6 separate regions of the Homo sapiens genome follow, and regions 1, 2, 3, 4 and 6 are each linked to region 5. Evidence: promoter capture Hi-C in 16 types of primary human blood cells and fetal thymus (Javierre and others, 2016). All regions are on one chromosome and are shown on one strand. Each heading gives the region's core, a stretch centred on a gene start or on the middle of the fragment in contact. The rest is flanking DNA. Distances are from core to core; before and after follow the strand shown. Region 1 overlaps EEF2K (eukaryotic elongation factor 2 kinase). Region 2 holds the start of LOC124903663 (a long non-coding RNA gene). Region 3 overlaps EEF2K (eukaryotic elongation factor 2 kinase). Region 4 overlaps METTL9 (methyltransferase 9, His-X-His N1(pi)-histidine). Region 5 holds the start of PDZD9 (PDZ domain containing 9). Region 6 has its middle 46 kb from the start of CDR2-DT.

The links. The method cuts DNA at HindIII sites, captures the fragments that hold promoters and counts their contacts. A CHiCAGO score of 5 or more calls a contact.
Region 1: a contact is called between a fragment that was not itself captured here and the fragment with the promoter of PDZD9 in region 5, in 8 of 17 cell types (total CD8 T cells, naive CD8 T cells, neutrophils and 5 more). The highest score is 10.7, in total CD8 T cells.
Region 2: a fragment that was not itself captured here is called in contact with the fragment with the promoter of PDZD9 in region 5 in 1 of 17 cell types (fetal thymus); the score reaches 5.3 in fetal thymus.
Region 3: a contact is called between a fragment that was not itself captured here and the fragment with the promoter of PDZD9 in region 5, in 11 of 17 cell types (total CD8 T cells, naive CD8 T cells, neutrophils and 8 more). The highest score is 23.2, in total CD8 T cells.
Region 4: a fragment that was not itself captured here is called in contact with the fragment with the promoter of PDZD9 in region 5 in 1 of 17 cell types (neutrophils); the score reaches 5.5 in neutrophils.
Region 6: a fragment that was not itself captured here is called in contact with the fragment with the promoter of PDZD9 in region 5 in 1 of 17 cell types (naive CD8 T cells); the score reaches 5.2 in naive CD8 T cells.

What each region holds. Positions count from the first base shown.
Region 1 is chr16:22,261,359-22,264,869 of GRCh38, reverse strand. It overlaps EEF2K (eukaryotic elongation factor 2 kinase), which reads right to left. Exons shown (of 18, transcript NM_013302.5): 12 at 1,683-1,760; 13 at 1-52. Among named protein-coding and RNA genes, the nearest start is that of TRL-AAG2-4, 34 kb to the left of the region's middle. The HindIII fragment of the contact is 3,812 bases long and covers 95-3,511 here.
Region 2 is chr16:21,644,001-21,647,456 of GRCh38, reverse strand. All of the region lies in intron 4 of METTL9 (methyltransferase 9, His-X-His N1(pi)-histidine), which reads right to left. IGSF6 (immunoglobulin superfamily member 6) reads left to right here. Exons shown (of 6, transcript NM_005849.4): 2 at 1-324; 3 at 3,061-3,167. It overlaps LOC124903663 (a long non-coding RNA gene), which reads right to left and starts at 3,061. Exons shown (of 2, transcript XR_007065025.1): 1 at 2,281-3,061; 2 at 1-525. RefSeq lists an enhancer at 1,732-1,911. The HindIII fragment of the contact is 562 bases long and covers 1,322-1,883 here.
Region 3 is chr16:22,281,409-22,285,265 of GRCh38, reverse strand. EEF2K (eukaryotic elongation factor 2 kinase) reads right to left here. Exons shown (of 18, transcript NM_013302.5): 18 at 1-1,379. The coding sequence ends at 1,270. Among named protein-coding and RNA genes, the nearest start is that of TRL-AAG2-4, 14 kb to the left of the region's middle. RefSeq lists an enhancer at 2,684-2,978. The HindIII fragment of the contact is 2,676 bases long and covers 159-2,834 here.
Region 4 is chr16:21,604,599-21,608,568 of GRCh38, reverse strand. All of the region lies in intron 1 of METTL9 (methyltransferase 9, His-X-His N1(pi)-histidine), which reads right to left. Among named protein-coding and RNA genes, the nearest start is that of METTL9, 7.0 kb to the right of the region's middle. The HindIII fragment of the contact is 4,521 bases long and covers 1-3,970 here.
Region 5 is chr16:21,998,844-22,002,849 of GRCh38, reverse strand. It overlaps PDZD9 (PDZ domain containing 9), which reads left to right and starts at 1,734. Exons shown (of 4, transcript NM_001363519.1): 1 at 1,734-1,833. The coding sequence starts at 1,803. It also overlaps the pseudogene LOC100420536. RefSeq lists an enhancer at 1,539-1,588. The HindIII fragment of the contact is 4,622 bases long and covers 360-4,006 here.
Region 6 is chr16:22,418,927-22,422,612 of GRCh38, reverse strand. It overlaps the pseudogene RRN3P3. Among named protein-coding and RNA genes, the nearest start is that of CDR2-DT, 46 kb to the right of the region's middle. The HindIII fragment of the contact is 2,788 bases long and covers 923-3,686 here.

The sequences.
Region 1 (3,511 bases), core at 751-3,250, 260 kb before region 5:
TGCCCAGGCTGTCTTCGTCAGACTCGTACTTCCGATTACTGTATGAGTGGCCCTGAACGGAGGAAGAAATTACACTGATCCAAAGCGACAAGCTTCTTCCCAGGAACCTCTCCTGAGAGCTGGTCCAGCCCTCCTCCCTGGAACCAGCCTGGCCCTCCTAGGTGACCCTTATCTCAGAAAATTGGCCCTATGTTCCCAGGTGACACTGGAACCCTTCTCTGCCAAGCAGAAGGGATGCTGGGTCACAGGCAGGGATGACAACGCTGGTGCAGTCACAGCCTTGCTGTCCCCCTCCGTGTGTGAGCAGGTGGAACTGACTTGATGGTGCAGGATCCCAACACAAAGCCACTGGGGTAACGGGCAGAGCTCCTACTGCATGTTTAGTTTATATTTTAATTTAGACATGGGTCTTGCTCTGTTGCCCAGGCTGGAGTGCAGCAGTGTGATCAAAGCTCACTGCTGCCTCCAACTCCCCAGGTTCAAGCAATCCTCTCACATTGCCCTCCTAAAGTGCTGGAATTGCAGGTGAGCCACCAGGCCCAGCTGTTTTACTTTTTTTTTTTTTTTTTTTTTTTTTTTTGAGACAGTCTCACTCTGTGGTCCAGGCTGGAGTGCAGCGGCATGACCTTGGCTCACTGCAACCTCCACCTCCCAGGCTCAAGTGATTCTCATGCCTCGGCTTCCTGAGTAGCTGGGACTAGAGGAGTGCACCACTGCACCCGGCTAATTTTTGTATTTTGAGTTGAGATGGGGTCACCACGTTGGCCAGGCTGGTCTTGAACTTCTGGCCTCAAGTGATCTGCCTGCCCCGGCCTCCCAAAGTGCTGGGATTACAGGCATAAGCCACCACGCCCGGCCAGCATGTTCTTTATTCACAATCATAAAGCTGAGATCAGAGGTGTCCTGGCAAGACTGGCCTTGATGTGCAGGCTCCATTTCAGCACAGGGTAAGACCTCTAAATGGCAGATACTGTCTGAGGTTGCCCTCACCAGGATGCTGCTGGGAGGCTACCCAAGGAAACTGACCTCCAAGGCCCTCCTCCCTGGGGCCTCACAGGATCCTGCCTATGAGTGGGTCCAGCTATTACCCAGGATCCTCTCTGCTCAGCAGCCCAGGACTCCCACTTCACCATAAGATTTGTCAGCCATTATCAGCCTTATATCTAAGCCTCCACACTTGCCCCGTTACTGGTCCACATGATCCTGTTTTATCTTCTTTGCATTTATCTTTATCTGAAATACTCTTTATTTTATTTTATTTTGAGACAAAGTTCACTGTGTCACCCAGGCTGGAGTGCAGTGGCACAATCTTGGCTCACTGCAACCTCTGTCTTCTGGGTTAAAGTGATTCTCCTGCCTCAGCTTCCCCAGTAGCTGGGATTACAGGCATGCACCACCATGCCAGGCTAATTTTTGTATTGTTAGTAGAGACGGGGTTTCACCATGTTGGCCAGGCTGGTCTCGAACTCCTGATGTCAGGTGATCCACCCGCCTTGGCCTCCCAAAGTGCTGGGATTACAGGCGTGAGCCACCATGACCGGCCTGAAATACTCTTTATTAATTTACTTGTTATCTTCTCAGGACCCACTCATATTCCCCCTCCAGGAAGGGGAGTTTTCATTTTCCTGGAGGATAAACAAGGCAACAGGTGACACCGGTCTCATTTCCTGGGGGTTCCTTACATGTTCTCGGGGCTCAGGGTCATCCAGCTCACCCCGCTTCTCACTGGGGTATCCGCTGTCCCCACTATTCTCAGACTCCTGTGGAGAGAAGACGGCCTTAGGGTCCTGGTGGTCCCCTGAGCACCTGGAAATGGTTATGACATCTCAACACCCCAACTGTTAGCTTTCTCCCCTCTGTCCCATTACCTAACACCCTGCTCCTGCTGTCCCTTGCCGGGTGTGGTGGCTCATGCCTGTAATCCCAGCACTTTGGGAGGCCGAGGCAGGCAGATCACTTGAGGACACAAGTTCAAGACCTGCCTGGCCAACGAGGGAGCAGTATAAGGTAACAGTAAGGACCTTGGGCTCTACAGCCAAATGACCTGGGCTCAAATCCTGGCTTTATTTCTTGCCAGCTGAGACCTTGGGCAGTTGCTTAACTTCTCTGAGCATCAGTGTCCTTAGTTATGGGATTCATTATAGCCCCTACATCGAAGGGCTGTGTGGGTGAAATGCACTGTTACATTCTGAGAGTGTGGATCACAGGAAGTGCTTTACTGAGAGTGACTCACCCACTTCACAGGCAGAAAAACAAAGGCTGGTTAAGGGCTATGACCCACGGACAAAAATATAGCATTGGGAACAATATTTAATACAAATAAGCCCTCAACCAAAACCACACATTTTTATTTTTTTTTTGAGATGGAGTCTCGCTCTGTCACACTGGCTGGAGTGCAGTGGCACGATCTCAGCTCACTGCAACCTCTACCTCTTGAGCTGAAGTGATTGTCCTGTCTTAACCTCCCAAGTAGCTGGGACTACAGGCGCCTGCCACCACGCCTGGCTAATTTTTGTATTTTTAGTAGAGACGAGGTTTCACCATATTGGCCAGGCTGGTCTCAAACTCCTGAACTTGTGATCCGCCTGCCTTGGACTCCCAAAGTGTTGGGATTACAGGCGTGAGCCACCGTGCCTGGCCTAGTTGGGCATATTTTTTATTCTCCCAGGTCTGAGTTCTGTTCTGAAAGCGAATCTGGTATAATTTAGAATCTCTAAAACTTCAGCCATGTACCTACCAACATTGAATTATAGCTCTCTCTGCATGTCACCTGCACAATTAGTAACGGAATAGTTTTATTTCCTTCTTTATTCTTCTAAGAAGTATCTTTTCTGTGTGTGTGTGTGTGTGTGTGTGTGTGTGTGTGTGGCAGGGTCTCACGTTGTCACCCAGGCTGTAGTGCAGTGGCGTGATCTCAGCTCACTGCAACCTCCACCTCCCAGGTTCAAGCAATTCTCTTGCCTCAGCCTCCTAAGTAGCTGGAATTACAGGCACATGCCACCATGCCTGGCTAATTTTTATATTTTTTGTAGGGATGAGGTTTCATCATGTTGGCCAGACTGGTCTTAAACTCCTGGCCTCAAGTGGTCTGCCTGCCTCAGCCTCCCATAGTGCTGGGATTACAGGTGTGAGCCACCACACCCCGCCTCTACTAAGAAGTATTTCTTTTTTTTTTTTTTTGAGACTGAGTCTCGCTCTGTCGCCCAGGTTGGAGTGCAGTGGTGCGACCTCTGCTCACTGCAACCTCCGCCTCCTGGGTTCAAGAAATTCTCGTGCCTCAGCCTCCTGAGTAGCTGGGATTACAGGAAACTGCCACCATACTCGGCTAATTTTTGTATTTTTAGTAGACATGGGGTTTTGGCATGTTGGTCAGGCTGGTCTTCAAATTCCTGACCTCAAGTGATCTGCCCCCCTTGGCCTGCCAAAGTGCTGGGATTACAGGCGTGAGCCACTGCGCCCAGCCTCTACTAAAAGGTATTTGTTTTTTCTTTTTTTTTGAGACAAGATCTCG
Region 2 (3,456 bases), core at 353-2,852, 360 kb after region 5:
CGTGGTACCTAGAAGTGGACTACACTCATGAGGCCGTCACCATAAAGTGTACCTTCTCCGCAACCGGATGCCCTTCTGAGCAACCAACATGCCTGTGGTTTCGCTACGGTGCTCACCAGCCTGAGAACCTGTGCTTGGACGGGTGCAAAAGTGAGGCAGACAAGTTCACAGTGAGGGAGGCCCTCAAAGAAAACCAAGTTTCCCTCACTGTAAACAGAGTGACTTCAAATGACAGTGCAATTTACATCTGTGGAATAGCATTCCCCAGTGTGCCGGAAGCGAGAGCTAAACAGACAGGAGGAGGGACCACACTGGTGGTAAGAGGTCAGTCAGCGAGGCTTTATTTCAGTGCATCATTGCATCTTGTTCAGGCCTGTAAAATCATTACCTCACTCACATGTAGAAATCAGGAGATAAATTTGCTAAGTTAATACCCTAGCCAGTGATGGGTGTGATCTGAACACAAGTCACCATGAGGTTTGGACTAAAGAACTACTCCAACTGGCTGGGCGTGGTGGCTCACACCTGTAATCCCAGCACTTTGAGGCTGAGGTGGACGAATCACTTGAGGTCAGGAGTTCAAGACTAGCCTGGCCAACATGGTGAAACCCCATCTCTACTCAAAATACAAAAATTAGCCGCGCATGGTGGCATGCACCTGTAGTCCCAGCTGCTTGGGAGGTTGAGGCAGGAGAATCGCTTGTAACCCAGGAGGCGAAGGTTGCAGTGAACCGAGATCGCACTACTGCACTCCAGTCTGGGCAACAAAGCAAGACTCCATCTCAGAAAAACAAAAGAACTACTCCAATCCATCTCGAACATCCACTAACACAAAGTCAGTGATTTGCTGGGTGCTCTATTCTCCCTACATGGTGATGTTTAACCAACCATGTTCACCTCTTTTGTATATTACAGTGATTTAGTGTAAAGTACCATGTCCAAAGGGAACCTTGTGGTGAGTAACTATCAGCTTTCTCAGGAACTAGTCTGGTAATGCACCACCTAGAACAAAGCACTAGAGAAGTGTAAAAGATCAATAAATTGGACCCACAGAAACTATGCAACATGGAGAATAAGCACAGATTTGGAGAGAAGCTACTCAGGGATCCCTGACCCTTCCCATTCTGCCTGGACATCAGTGAACGGAAAGTGATGACTCTCACTTCCTGAGATTTGATAAAACCCATGACAATTCCTCAGCCGAGCGAGGACATCAAACATAGCTAAATCCTATCAGTAATTTCACCAAGTCATTCCCTTGAGTAAACTGAGATTAAGACATTCCCGAGAAAAAAAAAGGGGGAATTTCAGAGAAAAAGCTTTACATGATTCTGAAGGAAAAAAGAGAACAGCAGCAACTCCTCGCCTTGTTGGGGTCTCTTCCCTTAGGAAGGACCCTGGTATGATGAGCAGAGATTGTTAAAACATGAACTCAAAATCAACCAGCCCTTCGATTTCAAAATAGGACTCTGAGGAAGGGAGACCATCCAGTATTATAACCTGTGCTTTTAAACTACGAGGGTTCTAATGGGCTTTTGATATTCAAATGTCATTTAACCTTAGTTTATTCTCATCTGTCAGCTAAATTATAAATAAGTTAAGGCACTTAAAGCATTTTTAATAGTGCCTGGCATATAGCAAATAACAAATGTTAGCTACTGATATGAAAACACACACAGCTTTAGAGATTTGTATGTCTCACTGCATTAGCCTTCTAAAAACATGTTAGTCAAAGGGAAAAATGGCTTGTAAAAAGATGAAGGTCTCAAAGCTGCAAGGCTTATATAAAGTGAAGTGAAAGTGAAAGGCAGAATTGAAAGTGTTAAGGCAGACATGGCAACTTCCTGTCTCTTCTACAGAACTCCTATTTTCACACTGAAGCTTTTTTATTTTAGTTGTATAGATGTGGTTAATTTGTTAGTTTCACAAATAAAAATGTATGCTGCATAAACTGCATTCACAGGATAAGCATCTATGGGATTTTTCTTTCTTTTTTTTTAAGACAAGAGTCTTGCTCTGTCGCCCGGGCTGGAGTGCCGTGGCGTGATCTCAGCTCACTGCAACCAACCTCCACCTTCCGGGTTCAAGCGATTCTCCTGCCTCAACCTCCTGAGTAGCTGGGATTACAGGCATGTGCGACCACGCCCAGCTAATTTTGGTATTTTTAGTAGAGATGGGGTTTCGCCATGTTGGCCAGGCTGGTGTCAAACTCCTGATCTCAAGTGATCTGCCCACCTCGGCCTCTCAAAGTGCTGGGATTACAGGCATGAGCCATCACACTCAGTCTCATCTATGGGATATTTAGTTGGAAAGTACAGGCTATTCAGACAGTAAGTACAAATCTAATTGTATTTTGTACTCCAAATAGTCAGGTAATTGAAGACATGGCATGTTACTTAATCCCTACCCAGAGCACAAGACAATTTCTGCAAGGAGAGAGAAATTCCGAATGTGAAAATGGATTCAATAACTCTATTTCCAGAATTTTATCATAAAGAAAGAAGAGCACATTTGGCAAAAGTGCCTGTCTTTCAAGCACGCAGTGAGCACTGCGCTCCTCAATGTATGGCCTTCCCAGGTTCTTTCACAGATGGGACTCTTCAGCTATGTGTACTAGTTCCAAGGCTATAAATATCACCCTTAACAAATACATATGAAAATATCTTAACCACATAGGCAGACTCTTGATGATACTGGTAAACCGTTTCTACCAAAAGAGATTTTAGATGCCCTTGAACAAACTGTCTGGAAATGTTTATCTAACTTCAAATAATCCTTTATCTAAAAAGTGATGCTTAGCAATATGACAAATGGTTGGTTGAATTTTTTTAATGTTTAAAAACGAGTAACATTTTTGGTTTAACACATTTAAAGAACTGATGAACTGGCTTTAACTATTACATACTTGAGTACCTTTTGAGGTCTAGTTTTTATACGAATAGGCAAGCAGAGTAAGTTCACGTTTCACCTCTAAAACGCAGTGTGAAGGATACTTTACACATGTATTTGAAAGAATAGGCTTTAATAGTCAATGTGCTTCTTTCTGTTTTTGTCATTAAGAAATTAAGCTGCTCAGCAAGGAACTGCGGAGCTTCCTGACAGCTCTTGTATCACTGCTCTCTGTCTATGTGACCGGTGTGTGCGTGGCCTTCATACTCCTCTCCAAAGTAAGTCAAATCCTCTTGCATGGAATGTCCCTATATCCTTGAATATTATCAAAAGAAAAATAATTTCTATCTCTCCACAAGTTATGGGCCTCAGCAAGAGCTCCCTAATTAACATTTTCCTGTGCATCTGCAGGGAACACCACCTGCAGAAGAGGTCTTTGGAAGAAGGCATCATACATTCTCATCACTGAAATTATTAGCCAGGGGACATAGTTTGCTGTTTTCTCTTTAAAGCCCAGTAGCATGGGATTAAGAAGAGAGCCATCCACTATGCTATCTTTCTGCTGTA
Region 3 (3,857 bases), core at 247-2,746, 280 kb before region 5:
TTCACGTAAGAACATCCAGACACTAAGAAAACACCAAGGAATACTGTATAAGAGACATTGCAGTCACGTTGTGGGAGCTGCCACTGAGATGCAGAGTGTGGGTCTGCTTGGAGAAAAGGCTCTCACATTCCAAGCCGCTGTCCTTACGTGTAAAAGCTTTGAGGTGCACCCTCTTCCACACTAGCTGATGTAGGAGTTAGAGGTAGTAAACGTGTGCATACAAAACTCAAACCTGTTTTGAAAAGCCCACCGTAGAAAGCATGCTTAAAAGATGGAATTCGGCTGTATGCCAGAAAATCAGTAGCATTATGGAAGGAAATTGAACTAGAAGTTTAAAAAACAGCCAACATGCAGGCCCTTCCCCACAGTAGAAGGGAGCCTGGGTATTGTGCAATCTCACACCCACTGAAAAAATGCCACGCATGCCTCTAAATGCTCTGAGAAAGAATGCTTTGCACTAAGCCACGGCAATACACGCCCCGTGACTTAGGAAAGCCAGCGTGAAGTGCTTCATTTCTCATCCCGATGCACAAAACACAGGGCTCCATGGGCCCGACATTTCAGTCCAGCCTGAAAAGACTAGTGAGCACAGCCCTAAAATTGTCCATTCAAGGCAAAAAGCACTTTCTTATATCTCGTGACAAAAAAAAAAAAAGAAATAAAAATGAAAATAGAACCACAAAATGGGCAGGCATGGTGGCTCACACCTGTAATCCCAGCACTTTGGGAGGCTGAGGCAGGTGGATCACCTGAGGTTAGGAGTTCGAGACCAGCCTGGCCAACATGGTGAAACCCCATCTCTACTAAAAATGCAAAAATTAGCTGAGTGTGGTGGTGTGCACCAGTAATCCCAGCTACTTGGGAGGCTGAGGCAGGAGAATCACTTGAACCCAGGAGGCGGAGGTTGCAGTGAGCTAAGATCATGTCACTGCACTCCAGCCTGGGTGACAGAGCAAGACTCTGTCTCAAAACAAACAAACAAACAAACAAAAAAAACCACACACAAAACGGTATGTTGGTTCATTAGGCTGCTTCTTCAAGCCCCACTTCCCCAAAATACTGCCCTAAGAGACAGCTATAGAGTCTCTGCTGGTAGCTGCCAAGGAGCAAAGACATTTTTCAAGAGTCAAAAAATGAAATATAAAATTTGATTTTACAACACACTTAAAAATGCTTCCCCTCCCCAAACTAAATAAGTTGTTGTTGTTGTTTTTTTAATCTTTCCTCCTAGCCCGTTTGCTTGGGACTAGCCGGCAGTGATTTTCCTGGTTACTCCTCCATCTGGGCCCAGGCCTCTTCAGCCTTTTGGTAGTACTGGTTGGCCAGTCGGCCCTTCATGGCTTCCATCGCTGCCTCTGCTGCCTGGGTATACAAGTCCCCTGAAAGACAGCAAAGGGGGGCAAAAAGAGGTGAACCACCTGTTGTTTTTGCCAGCCCAGTGTCCCCCATCACCCCTCCCAGAAGAACACCCTGACGTTTCCTTAAGAACTCAAACTACTCCGTGTGCCCTCTCCCTCCAGGTGTTCCGGGCGGGGCTCTAAAGGTGGGCCTGTGATAAAATCTAGCCAATAATAGCACTCCTCCTATCCCCCACCAAGCTACAGCGATTGGTCCAGATTTAGTCATGGCCAATCAGAGTAAGCCATCTAAACAACTACTGTTGGTTTGGGGTATGTAGATGATTGAGTTTGAGCCAATGAGAATCAGGCTGAGAACTAATTTGAGCCAATGAGAATCAGGGTGAGAACTTTTGCAGAACTAAGTGGGGATGTGCAAAAGTGGAAGAAATAACGACTTACAAACAGCTTCATGTCAGCTAGGTCAGGTTTTACCAAGTGAATTTGTGTAAAACATACAAATATACTTCAGGTTTTTGGAGCTTTTTGGATTTAAAATTTTCAAATAAAAGATTATAGATTTGCATCATTCTTCTTCTTTTTTTTTTTTTTTTTTTTTTGAGATGGAGTCTCACTCTGTCACCCAGGCTGGAGTCCAGTGGCGGAATCTTAGCTCACTGTCACCACTGCCTCTGGGGTTCAAGCGATTCTCCTGCCTCAGCCTCCTGAGTAGCTGGGATTACAGGCACCTGCCACCACGCCCAGCTAATTTTTGTATTTTTAGTAGGGATGGGGTTTCATCATGTTGCCCAGCCTGGTCTCGATCTCCTGACCGCAGGTGATCTGCCTGCCTTGGCCTCCCAAAGTGCTGGGATTACAGGCGCGAGCCACTGCCCAGCCTAGATTTGCATTATTCTTTGTTAATTTTTAAAATATAACTTAAAAACTTTTAAAACTTAGCCTCATCCTATACCTGTGAAATTAGGAACTTAGTATGTTTATTATATGTTAGGGACTGAATGCTGTGTCCCCACTGGGCTCCCCATCCACAAATTCATATGTTGAACTCTTCATTCATGATGTAACTGCACTGTATTTGGAGACACACAGTCTGTGTCTTAGTCCATTTTATGTTGCTATGACAGAATTCCACAGACTAGATAATTTATAATGAAAAGAAATTTATTTGGCTCACAGTTCTAGAGCCCGGCAAGTCCAAGAGCATAGCACCAGCATCTGGCACAGGCCTTGGTGCTGTATCATCCCATGCCAGAAGGCAAAGAGCAAGAGACGTAGAAAGCAAGCGAGCAAGAGGGGGCCAAATTTGCTTTTATAACAAAGCTACTTTTGTGATGACTGACCAATCTGCATGATAACAACATTAATCACCTCTTAACAGTCCCACCTCTTGACACCTTCACAGTGGTGATTACAGTTCAACATGAGACTTGGAGGGGACGTTCATATTCTAGCAGCCTGTGAGGAGGTGATAAAGCTTAAATGAGGTCATAAGGGTAGGGCCCTAATCACACAGAGCTCATTCCCGTTTAGGAAGCAAAAGAGACAGCAGAGCTCTCTTGCTGTCTCCCCACTTGCATCCAGGAGAAAGGTCATGTGAGGACACAGTGAGAAAGCTGTTTTCTACAAGCCAGAAACCAAACTGGCCAGCACCTTGATCTTGGAATTCCCAGCCTCCAGAACTGGGAGAAATAATTTTTTTTGTTGTTTTTTGAGACAGGGTCTCACTCTGTTGCCCAGGCTGAAGTGCGGTGGTATGATCATAGCTCACTGAGTGTGCCACCACACTCAGTTAATTAAAACAATTTCTTTTGTAGAGGTGAGGTTTACCTATGTTGCCCAGGCTGGTCTTGAACTCCTAGACTCAAGTGATCCTCCCATCTTGGCCTCCCAAAGTGCTGGGATTACAGGCATGAGCCACTGTGCCCAGCAATTTTTTTAGTTTAAACCACCCACTCTATAGTATTTTGTTTTGGCAGCCCAAGAAGACTAATACATTATGTAACAGAAAAAATATATATATAACTTGTCTATCAACTGATGAATGGATAAAGGCTGTATATCCACACAATGGAATATTATGTAGTAATAAGAAGGAATGAAGTACTGATAACACACTTCAACACAGATGAATCTTGAAAAAGTTATGCTAAATGAAAGAAGCAGATACAAAAAGCCACAAATTGTATACTCCCAGTTATATAAAATCTCCAGAATAGGCAAATCTATAGGGACAAAAAGTATAGTGGCTGCTAGGTTCGGGGAGGACTGCTAACTGGTACGGGATTTCTTTTTGGGGTGATGGAAATGTTCTGGAATTACATAGCAGTGATGATTGTACAACATTATGACTATACTAAAACCCACTAGGACCAGGTGCAGTGGCTCACATCTGTAATCCAAAGACTTTGGGAAGCCAAGGCAGCAGATTGCTTGAGGCTAGGAGTTCAAGACCAGCCTGGGCAACATAGCAAGACTCTGTCACTACAAAGAACTTTTAAA
Region 4 (3,970 bases), core at 666-3,165, 390 kb after region 5:
CCTTACCCACAAAATGTCACTGTACTGACTCTCCAGTAGTGTTTCCCACTATCCCAGCCTAACTATGGTCTAGGGACTCCAGCTGACTGAATTAAAAGATGGACTCGCTGGCCTCAGAGAACTTACATTCCAGAGTGAAAATAAAATCAGAAACCAAGGGAAACAAGTAATGTGACTATGATCTTGGCGAGGAGCTTCAGAGCCTTAAAGGAGCAGTCACCTTGCCCTTAAGGTGAAATACCAAGGACCAAGGAGAGAAAAAATCTGCAGGAACCCCTTTAACCCAATGGGCAGGACTCCTGGTTTCACCTCTCTCCAAACAACCAGCTTAGATAAAAAGCTACGCTAAGCTCGCAGCACTGGGTGGCTTGTCTGTATGCTCCTGTGTACTTTCAAGCAGGTGAGTTCTTTGTTTTTTTTGAGACGGAGTCTTGCTCTGTCGCCCAGGATGGAGTGCAGTGGTGTGATCTAGGCTCTCTGCAACCTCTGCCTGCCGGGTTCAAGTGATTCTCTCGCCTGAGCCTCCCAAGCAGCTGGGATTACAGGCACCTACCACCCCGCCTGGCTAATTTTTGTATTTTTAGTAGAGATGGGGTTTCACCATGTTGGCCAGGCTGGTCTTGATCTCCTGACCTCAGGTGATCTGCCTGCCTCGGCCTCGCAAAGTGCTAGGATTACAGGCGTGAGCCGCTGCGCCCAGCCGCAGGTGAGTTCTTTAAATGTGTGCTCCTTAAAGACTACAGAGACAAAGGTGCACAGGCAAGAACAAAGTACTATGCCCGTTAAATTCACACACTGACAGGACTACACGCCCACTCTACTGTGAGGCTGGACTCCTTGGCTGGAGCCTACCATGTCTGAAAAAGCATCTTATTAGCATCTGCCTTTAAAGCTCACTCAAATGTTGTTTCATCTAAATAAACAAGGGAATCTTTTAAATGACAAATTCTAATCAAATGAGAATGATTCCATTCAGTCATCTGCTGATGCCAAGTACAGAACAGGATGTGATATCTAAAAATTACAGTAAATAGCAATATTCTCCCTACTGGCAACACAACTGCAAAGATACTAATAATTGGCCAGGCAGTAAACAGCCAAATCAGGTGGCTGCCACGCGTTTTGAATGCATGTCTGACAGTATTCGCCAACCGAAGTTATTAAATATTAGGTCATACTGTCTTAAAAATTTCCTGGCTGGCTACGATGGCTCACACCTGTAATCCCAGCAATTTGGAGGCCCAGGTGGGCAGATCACTTGAAGTCAAGAGTTCAAGACCAGCCTGGCCAACATGGTGAAACCCCGTCTCTACTAAAAATACAAAAATTAGCCAGGCGTGGTGGCAGGAACCTATAATTCCAGCTACTTGGGAGGCTAAGGCAAAAGAATCACTTGAACCAGAGAGGCAGAGGTTGTAGTGAGCCCAGAGTGTGCCACTGCACTCCAGCCTGGGCGACAAAGCAAGACTGTCAAAAAAAAAAAAAAAATTTCTCATTAAGCCCATGAACTCCTCCTAATATTTATATATAACCTTGGTTGATGAATCACTCGTTCAAAGTAGGAATGCAATTTTCCTATAAAATTAGATTTGCTAATCAGACCAAATATGGTTAAAAGTTTTTCTGAAATTATTTTTGGAGTTTATCAACTAATCAAACATGTGATATACAACATATCCAAAATACAACATTCCCAAAATACAAAGGATTTAAGCACACTAGCAGAGTCAGAAAGTAATTTTAAAAACTGACTGATTTTAGATGATGTGGTATAATAAAAAATACATATTTGATCTTTGTCCCAGGTTCCTGATAGAGAGTTCCTAAAACCCTTCGGGAATCTCAGGGTAATAAGAGTATCTTTTGTATGCTAACAGGATGACTCCTGATAGGGGTGGGAGACCCAGACAGCTTCAGGATGGGGACCAGGATGTGGGTATAAGGTTCAAACTTTCAGCCCCACCTTCCAATCTCCAAGGATGAGAAAGGAGTTGAAGACTGAGTCTAATCATGCCTATGTAATGACACCCCTAAACTATGGGGTCCTGGGAGCTTTTAGTTTGCTGAATACATTGATATGATGGTTGGGTGGCTCATCAGAGGAAAGAGAAACTCTACACCACCTCCCACACCTCACCCTATGCACCTCTTCCACTTGGCCGTTCCCCAATTGTATCCTTTGTAATAAACCAGTAAACCTAAGTGGTTTATTATTATTATTATTATTATTTTGAGACGGAGTCTCGCTCTGTCGCTCAGGCTGGAGTGCAGTGGCGCAATCTCAGCTCACTGCAACCTCCGCCTCCACGGTTCAAGCGATTCTCCTGCCTCAGCCTCCCCAGTAGCTGGGATTACAGGCACGTGCCACCACGCCCAGCTAATTTTTTTGTATTTTTAGTAGAGACCAGGTTTCACCCTGTTAGCCGGGATGGTCTTGATCTCCTGACCTCGTGATCCACCCACCTCAGCCTCCCATAGTGCCGGGATTACAGGCGTGAGCCACCGCACCTGTGTTTTCCTAAGTTCTATGAGTCATTCTATTATAGGAAATTAGGGGGTGGGGTGGGGTAGGGTGAAGGTAGAGTTGTGGGAACTCCCAAATTTGTTCAAGGTGGACAAAAGCACTGGCAGCCTGGGAACCCAGGACTTCCAGCTGGCCTCTGAAGTGAGGGCAGTCTTGTGGGACTGAGCTCTTAACTCTGTAAAGCGTGACCCTAACTCCAGGTAGTTAATGTCAGAACAGGATTGAACAATTAAACACCCACTTGGTGATGGAAAATTAGAGAATGGCTGATGTCAGGAAAAAATGACAATACATGTAAGAATCTTTTTTCAACTTTAAGCCTTAAAAAAAGCATGCACAAACCAGATAAAGGCCAGAACTTCAAGCAGCTGTCTTATTCTCATCTAATTCACAAACTACAAAATCTTCAACAAGTATTGTGCACACAGCTACCTAACTTCAGTGTCTACACAGAGGCCTCACTAGAATGAGGGCAGTTTCCTATTCAGAAGGCAAGCCTAGGCCAGGAGCAGTGGCTCACGCCTGTAATCCCAGCACTTTGGGAGACTGAGGCAGGAGGACTGCTTGAGGCCAGGAGTTTGAGACCAGCCTGAACAACATGGCAAGACCCTGCCTCTACAAAAGATTTAGAAGCTACTCAGGAGGCCGAGGCAGGAGGATGTACTGAGGCCAGGAGTTTGAGGCTGCAGTGAGATATGATCAGGCCACTGCATTCCAACTTGGGTGACAGAGTAAGAACTTGTTTCTCAAAAAAAAAAAAAAAAAAAAAAAAAAAAAAAAAAAAAAAGAAGGCAAGCCTATTTTTACCACCCCTCAGACAACACAAGGTTTACCAGGAGGGGCATCATAAAGCAGCAGAAAATGTGTTGCCTTGAAACCAAAGCTGGGTGCAAAGCCCAACTCTATCATCCATTAACTCTGTGCTGGTGAGCAAGTCTCTTCTCTCTCTCACCCTCACTTTTCTGTATGTAAAGTGCGGATGATACCACCAACCTCCAAGAGTTCTATGTGGACTACTGGGGATAATATATTTGAAGTGCCTGGCACACAATAGAAGGCCAGTAGCTCTTCATATTTCCTTCCCCTTTCTCTCCAAGGCAAGGGCTGGTCAGAGGAGAAGTACAGTTCAAGGGAATGCCTAAAAACCAAACTGTAGGTCTAGGCATCCAGCCATTCTCAAAAGAAATGGGTAATCAAAGACCCAAGGCATTCAGGGCTACCAAAAACAATCAGAAAAGCTCCACTGCTCAGGATCTATGAACACAGAATCTTTTCTAAGTTGGCCAGACCAACTCCATCAACAGAGCTTGACAGCTAAGGATTCAAAATTCACATTCTAAGATTTTACAATGCAGTCAACTCAGTCCAGACATTTCACCATGCACACCTTGCATTTAAGCACAGCATAGGCGTAAATATTCAGACCATTCACCATTTTCCCACAAA
Region 5 (4,006 bases), core at 485-2,984:
GGCGCTCACGCCTGTAATCCCAGCACTTTGGGAGGCCAAGGCGGGTGGATCACCCTGAGCTCAGGAGTTGGAGACCAGTCTGGCCAACATGGCAAAACCCTGTCTCTACTAAAAATACAAAAATTAGCTGGGCGTGGTGACACAGGCTTGTGGTCCCAGCTACTCTGGTGGCTGAGGTGGAAGGATCGCTTGGGCCTGGAAGGCGGAGGTTGCAGTGAGCTGAGATTTTGTCACTGCACTCCAGCCTGGGTGACAGAATGAGACCCCATCTCAAAAAAAAAAAAAAAAAAAAGGAACCTAAAGAGGAATCTGCCCTGGCTTATTGTCTGTGTAGAGCCACAGAAACAACAGAATAAGCTTGGACATAACCAGATCTACCATGGAAATCTTTGCACAGTGCCTGACACCTAATAGGTGGTTAATGACTGTTTGTTGAAGGGATGGGGCAAGGTGCTTAGCCTCTCAGTTTCATCAGACCGGGGATAACACCAGGGCCTACCTCATTAGGTTTTCTCTTTCTTCTAGAATTTACTAACTCATTTATTCATTTTTATTTTTTGAGACAGGATCTTGCTCCATCACCCAGGCTGGAAGGTGGTGACTCAATCATAGCTCACTGCAGCCTTGAATCCTGGGCTCAAGTGATCCTCCCATCTCAGCCTCCTGAGTAGCTAGGACTACAGATGTGCACCACCATGCCCAGCTAATTTTTAAATTTTTTTTATAGAGAAAGGGTCTCACTATGTTGCCCAGGCTGATCTCAAACTCCTGGGCTCAAGCAGTCCTCCTGCCTCAGTCTCCTGAGTACCTAGGATTACAGGTGTTAGACACCACACCTGGCCTAGAATTTATTTTTAATAATTTATATTTTCCTAAAATTGTCCACTTCATCTGTTTTTTAAGTACAGGTTTCAAGAGGATAGAGCCTGTGTTTCTGTGTTTGTCTTGCTTACTGTTGTGTCCCCAGTATCAGTAAATGACAGAACAGCTCCCTGTAAATACTTGTTGTATGAGTGAATGTGTGTGGGAGGAAGAATTATCTTGGAAAAAAGAAGGAAGCATTAATAGTGCCTCTCCTAATAGTGACTCATTTTTTTTTAGGCCACCCTGGGGCCTTTTCTTATTCAAAACATTCATGAAAAAAAGTGCAGTTCCAAAGCATTGGAGCTACTGATGTAACAATTTTTTTAAAATACCATTATTAGAAGTGCAGCGGGGGATTCTCTGATCTTCTAGGTATTCTGTGATCTCCTGTGATCTTCTGGCTGTGATCTTCCTCTGCAGACCACCTCACATCTTTGAGACACCCTCCTCTGTGCCTTCTCCCCCTCCCTATTTCTTAGGTTCACCAAGAATGAATGAAGAAGCCAAGCGCGGTGGCTCATGCCTGTAATCCCAGCACTTTGGGAGGCTGAGGCGGGCAGATCGCTTGAGCCCATAGTGCAACAGTTGTGTTGAGCCTGAGCAACATAGTGAGACCCCCACCCCCTGCCCGTCTCTTAAAAAAAGAAAAAGAAAAGAAGGAATGAAGAAACCACCGTGGGTCAGGCACGGTGCTAACCTCTGCAGAAGTTTCCATACAGTACAATGGTGTGCAATGCCCACGCCACGTTTTGCAGGGTCCACGGGAAGCCTTGCGGCGACCTCACTGCCGCCCAATTTCTGGGCAGTGGCGGCGCAGCGCCCCCTGGCGGCCATCCCGAGGGCAGTGCCCGCGGGCAAGGTTCGAAACTGTTGGCATTGGGACTGACTCCAGCCTCTGCTCCGGGAGGCCCTCCCGGGCTGCCTGACCTCCCGGGACCATGCAGAAGGCCTCCCACAAAAACAAAAAAGGTAACTGGGGAGAAGGAAGCGGGTGAAGAAGCCCTGGGGACCAAGCCTTCGTCAATGTTCCTCCTCTGTAAAATGGCAACGGTGCACTCTTGGCCTGGGAGATAACCTCTCTCCATCGTTGTTGTTATCATCATCATCATTATCATCATCATCATCATCATCATCATCATCATCATCATCATCATCATCATTTGAGAAGGAGTCTTGCTTTGTCCCCCAGGCTGGAGTGCAGTGGCGCGATCTCAGCTCACTGCAACCTCTGCCTCCCAGGCTCAAGTGATTCCTCTGCCTTAGCCTCCCGAGTAGCTGGGATTACAGGTGCCTGCCACCATGCCCAGCTAATTTTTTATTTTTAGTAGAGATGGGATTTCACCATGTTGGCCAGGCTGGTCTCAAACTCCTGACCTCAAGTGATCCGCCCGCCTTGGCCATCGTTATTTTTATCAAGGTATAATTTCCATGCAGTAAGATCCCCCCTTTTAAAAGTACAGCTACCGTTTTGACAAGCTATACCCACGTTGAACCACCCCCTCCATCAAGATAGGGAACAGTTCCACCACTCCCTAAAATTACTTTGCAATGCCCAGTTGCAGCCAAACCCCACCCCACTGCAGCTCCTCACACCCCCATCTGTTTTTTACAGCGTTTTTTTTTTTTTGCCTTTTCCATGGAGAACATCATAAAAATGAAATCACATAGTAAGGAGCCTTTAAAAAATTATACCAATGTAAATAGGGACTTTGGCCCTTTCATTTTTATTAAAAGGGCACATAAATCTTAAAATAGCATATGGGTCACTGTATTTTATTTTTAGAGACAGAGTCTTGTTCTGTCGCTCAGGCTGGAGTGCAGTGGTATGCTCCTGGCTCACTGCAGCCTCCAATTCTTGGGCTCAAGCAATCCTCCTGCATCAGCCTCCCATAGCTGGGACTGTAGGCATGCACCACCACATTCAGCTAATTTTTTTTTTTTTTTTGAGACAGAGTCTTGCTCTGTGACCCAGGCTAGAGTGCAGCGGCATGATCTTGGCTTACTGCAACCCCCGCCTTCCAGGCGGGTTCAAGCGATTCTTGCCCCTCAGCCTCCAGAGTAGCTTGGATTACAGGCGTGAACCACCACGCCTGGCTGATTTTTGTGTTTTCAGTAGCAACGGTGTTTCACCATGCTGGCCAGGCTGGTCTCGAACTCCTGACCCCAAGTGATCCGCCCACCCTCGGCCTCCCAAAGTGCTGGGATTACAGGTGTGAGCCACCATGCCCAGCCTAAATAGAAGAGATGAGGTGTCACTATGTTGCCCAGGCTCTAATCACTTTATACTTCTGCTAGCCCCCAGGTGGGCTTACTGAAGGATGCAGACTCCTGCACTGAGCAATTCTTGTTCTTTATGGCTTTTTTCCGCACAGCATCAGGATTTGATAAGACTTGAGGTTGGCAAAGAGGCTGAACTAGGCAGGCAGGTGCCAGACAGCCTTAGGCTTTTTCACTGCAGGGCTGTTGTCATTTGGACTGCTTGTCCTTGGGAAGGTTGACATTGCTGTCTGACTAGCCTTGTAGCAAAACCTGTAAGTCTTTCATATTTTAGTCTGGTGCTTGGGGTCTGGCTCTCCGAGGACCATAGTGCTGCCTCCTCCACCTGGTTGTCCCCAAACACAGCAGCTCACTCTTTTCTGAGCTCACCCTTTTCCAGGGAGGAAGCATTGAAGATCTCACTTTCAACAGCAGTAGGATCATCTTTGTCAGTACCTTCGGGTTCCAGGGTCCCTGCCACTGGGCCCTAGCGAGCACTTTCCTCAGGTTTCATGTCTAATAGTTCATCCTGAGCATGCACTGTGTGAAGAGCCTTTGCCTAAAACACATAAAATACCTTTTCCATCTTCAGTGTTTTCCTTGTCGTGGTTTTCATCCTCTAATGAAATTAATTGACTCAGCTCCTGCACTGTTACATCTGTGCTTTCCTGCTGGGTGAGCTTCTTTTCTTCTTTCTCAACTAGTTTTTTCAGAGGGTTTTGTAAGTGCTTTAAAGTAGTGACTTCATATGGCTGATAACCTGTGAAGCTCTCATGGATGGCTGCCATAGTGTGAGAAGTCTTCTCTCCAAAATGAAGCAGAGTGGTCTGGTATGTTGCTAGCATTTGAGACAGGAGATTGCATGTATTTACTTGCTCCAAGAAAA
Region 6 (3,686 bases), core at 1,067-3,566, 420 kb before region 5:
AGTATCACCGTTTTAAAATATGAGCATCCTAAATATTACACAAACCATACTTACGCTAAATATTTGGGATCTACACTAAAAATGTAGTGTAGTGTAAAAATGGGGTTTCACCATGTGGGCCAGGCTGGTCTCGAGCTCCCAACCTCAAGCTATCCACCCACCTCAGCCTCCCAAAGTGCTGGGATTATAGGCGTGAGCCACTGCACCCAGCCAATCTGATGGGTTTTTTTTTTTTTTGAGACGGAGTCTTGCTCTGTCACCCAGGCTGGAGTGCAGTGGCGCGATCTCCGCTCACTGCAAGCTCCACCTCCCGGGTTCACGCCATTCTCCTGCCACAGGCTCCTGAGTAACCCCTTTTGCTTGGTTCTCATTCTCTCTCTTGGCTGCCACCATGCAAGACCTGCCTTTCGCCTTCTGCCATGATTGGGAGGCCTCCCCAGCCACATGGAACTGTGAGTCCATTCAACTTCTTTTTCTTTGTAAATTACCCAGTCTCGGGTATGGCTTTATCAGCAGCATGAAAACAGACAAATATACTGTTGTTTCTTATTAAATGTTATTGGCTTATTTTGAAAACAAAAGCTTACCAAATACATGTGATTATGGGAAGGGGCCAGAAAGTTACACTGCAAGTAAAAATATCAGTAACTATGTTTACTGGGTGGCGATGGCAAAAACAATAGTTTTTCCTTTTTTTTTTTTTGGAGACAGGATCTTGCTCTGTCGCCCAGGCTACAGTGCAGTGGTGCAATCACAGCCCACTGCAGCCTCGACCTCCGGAGCTCAATTGATCCTCCCACCTCAGCCTCCTGAGTAGCTGCATCTACAGATGTGAGCCACCAAAAAAAAAAAAAAAATTATTTTTGACACAGGATCTAGCACTGTTGCCCAGGCTGAAGTGCATCTGGGCTCACTGCAAGCTTCTCCTGAGCTCAAACCACCCTCTCACCTTAGCCTCCCAAGTAGCTGGGACTAGAGCCTCACTCCACCACGCCCGGCCTTGTTTTTCCTTTGTGAACATCGTTCTACAATGCTGTGGGTACATCGCTTTTTCAATATGAAGTTTTCTTTGGAAGTTTATAAATCCAGTTTGGGCCTTGGAGGAAAGCAGTCAGTGATAGAAATTTTGTGACTCTGAGTGAGTTTGGTGGAGCTTCGAGTTGTAGATTGTTTCCCAGGGACCGCTGCAGACACAAAGCCCTGACTGCAGGATCCCCAGTGATAAAAGTGATCAAAGGCGAGTGTGATCAGACGTGCGCTGCAACGCGAGTTGAGGTTTCATCGAGCCTCATTCAGTGGCTCCTGGGGCAGTTGTGTGGATGAAGAGGGCCATGTCTGTGAAGTGCTCAGGATGGAGCTGGTGGTGGGGCGGCCATGCCGGCCACATGGCTCACACCCCTCACCCGTCAACTCGGTGCCCGGCATTTTCCTTAGCTCCTCTGTGGATTAATTCTCATTCTGAAGACGGGAGGCTGAGGTTTCATCTCAGCTCTGTTCCTGGCTCATTGCTGCGCTTCTCTGTACCCGTCCCCTCCCCTGACTAGGGGAATGAGAACCTTGCCTATGGAAACACTTAGGGGATGGTGGCCCGTGACTCCATGCCAGCCCCTCCCAAGCCCAGCCACCAGCTGAGGTCCTGACCACCTTGTGGACCACCCGGTCCTCCAGCCCTGCGCCCACCCCCGCGTCCTCCCTCCTGCTCTTTCGTAGTTCCCTTGTGTTTCTCTGTGCCAGTAGCTGAGCCCCCGTGCCCACCCACTGCAACTGCACCTTCCCTCCCTCCAGGCTTCCCCACTGCGTTGCTCCCCTGCAGGGGCCAGTGAGTGGCTCTAGCTGTGTTCAGACAGCTCTGTGCCTCCTCCTCCCACCCCAGTTCCTCCGCCTTGGAGACAGACGGGGGTGCAGCGGGGCTGAATGGCACTCCAAGCTCGTGGGGCTGGGGAGTCCACATCTGCACCCGCCGCGTGGCTAGCACCCCCTGAGCGTTTTGGTCAATTTGCCATCATCCCACCCCTCAGTGCCGTTGGTGGTTGCCTGACGAAAAGCTGCACTTAATAGAAATCACTGTGGATGCAGGAGATGGACGGTGATGAGCTCAGGACCAGCCAGCAACCCCATCAGGCGGTAATGCCTACCATGGTCACCCATGACTTCCTCTCGCCACTGCTCGGAGCTCCTGCAAAGCCACAGGCAACAACACATTTCTGCTCCGTACGAGAAGCTCCTATTGTAAGTCGGTGACATGGCTGGGGTTTTCTCTCAGCAAATATTGAGCAAACACTGACTGTGCCAGGTGATGTGCTGGGTCCCAAACCCTTCCCAGACCCAGCCCTGGCACTCACGGAGATCCAGCTAGGAAGTCCGGGAAAAGGTCATCGGGGAAATAAACAAAGTCAAGCACAGTGGATGAACGCGCTGCTGCCGCTCCCCACACCTCTTGTGGTGGACATCACTTACGCTTCCTCATGGTGCATGTCACTTATGCTTCCTGGTGCCCTCCCAGATGACCCCCCCTTGGGCCACTACACACAGCTGCACCCGGCAAGAGCAGACAAGGATGGTCTACTCACTGAGCCTGCAAGGCTGGTGTGCAGGACAGGCCAGCTACACTCCCCAGGTGTGTGCAAGACCGGGGACGAGTCAGTCATTGGGAGGTGAGGTGCTCGGGCAGTGTGGGATGGAGGAGGAGGGAGGGAAACTGAGTGTGGGCTCTTCGTATTGGAGAGGAGGGGACGGCCATGGCACAAAGACTCAGATGGGAAAGTGTGAGAAAGCAGAGATTTCAAAGGAGCTACGGTGGAGACCCACAGAAGAGGAATGCTGAGGCTTTTCTGTCTGAAATGCTGAATAGACTCTAGCACACGCAAAACAGCCCACCACAGCGAGCTGCAGGATTCTTCCGGGCTTTTAACAGTGGTCTTGTAAAAAAAATTAGCCGGGCATGGTTGTCCCAGCTACTCAGGAGGCAGAGAGGGGAGGATGGCTTGCGCCCAGGAGGTTGAGGCTGCAGTGAGCCATGATCGCACCACTGCACTCCAGCCTGGGTGACAGAATGAGACCCCTGACTCAAAAAAAAAAAAAAAAAAAAAAAAAAAAAAGACTGGAACATTCAAAACCTGTTGATGGGCTCAAGAAATTCTCAAGAAATTCTCTTGCCTCAGCCTCCTGAGTAGCTGGAACTACAGGTGTGCACCACCACATGTGGCTAATTTGTGTATTTTTTGTAGAGACAGGGTCTTACCATGTTGCCCAGTCTGGCCTTGAACTCCTGGACTCAAGGGATCCAATGACAGGCGAGAGCCACCATGCCCAGCCACATTTTTGCTAAATTCTTTACACTGGTGAATCTCAAAGAATTCTCTGATCATCACACCATATCCTGCTAAGTGTGCAATTAACCTGTGGACTTCAGTTGGACACTTTCAGATTAGCATTAGCTATGTGGGGCCACCAAATGCCAACTGTTAAATTATCACTCAAAGATAAATGACACTTGAGTGTGCTGTTTGAGTTTATACCTCTAAAAAATGCTTATAGTACCATGAGACTAGTGTGCCAACGTGTCTGGCTGCCAACGTGTCTATAGCTGAGCCAATAAGAATTAGTCTCTAGAGCCTCTGTTTCCAAGGAAGTCAATCTCTAGATTCCCACATTGGCTGCATGATGGAATAAGCCAGGGGCTACGA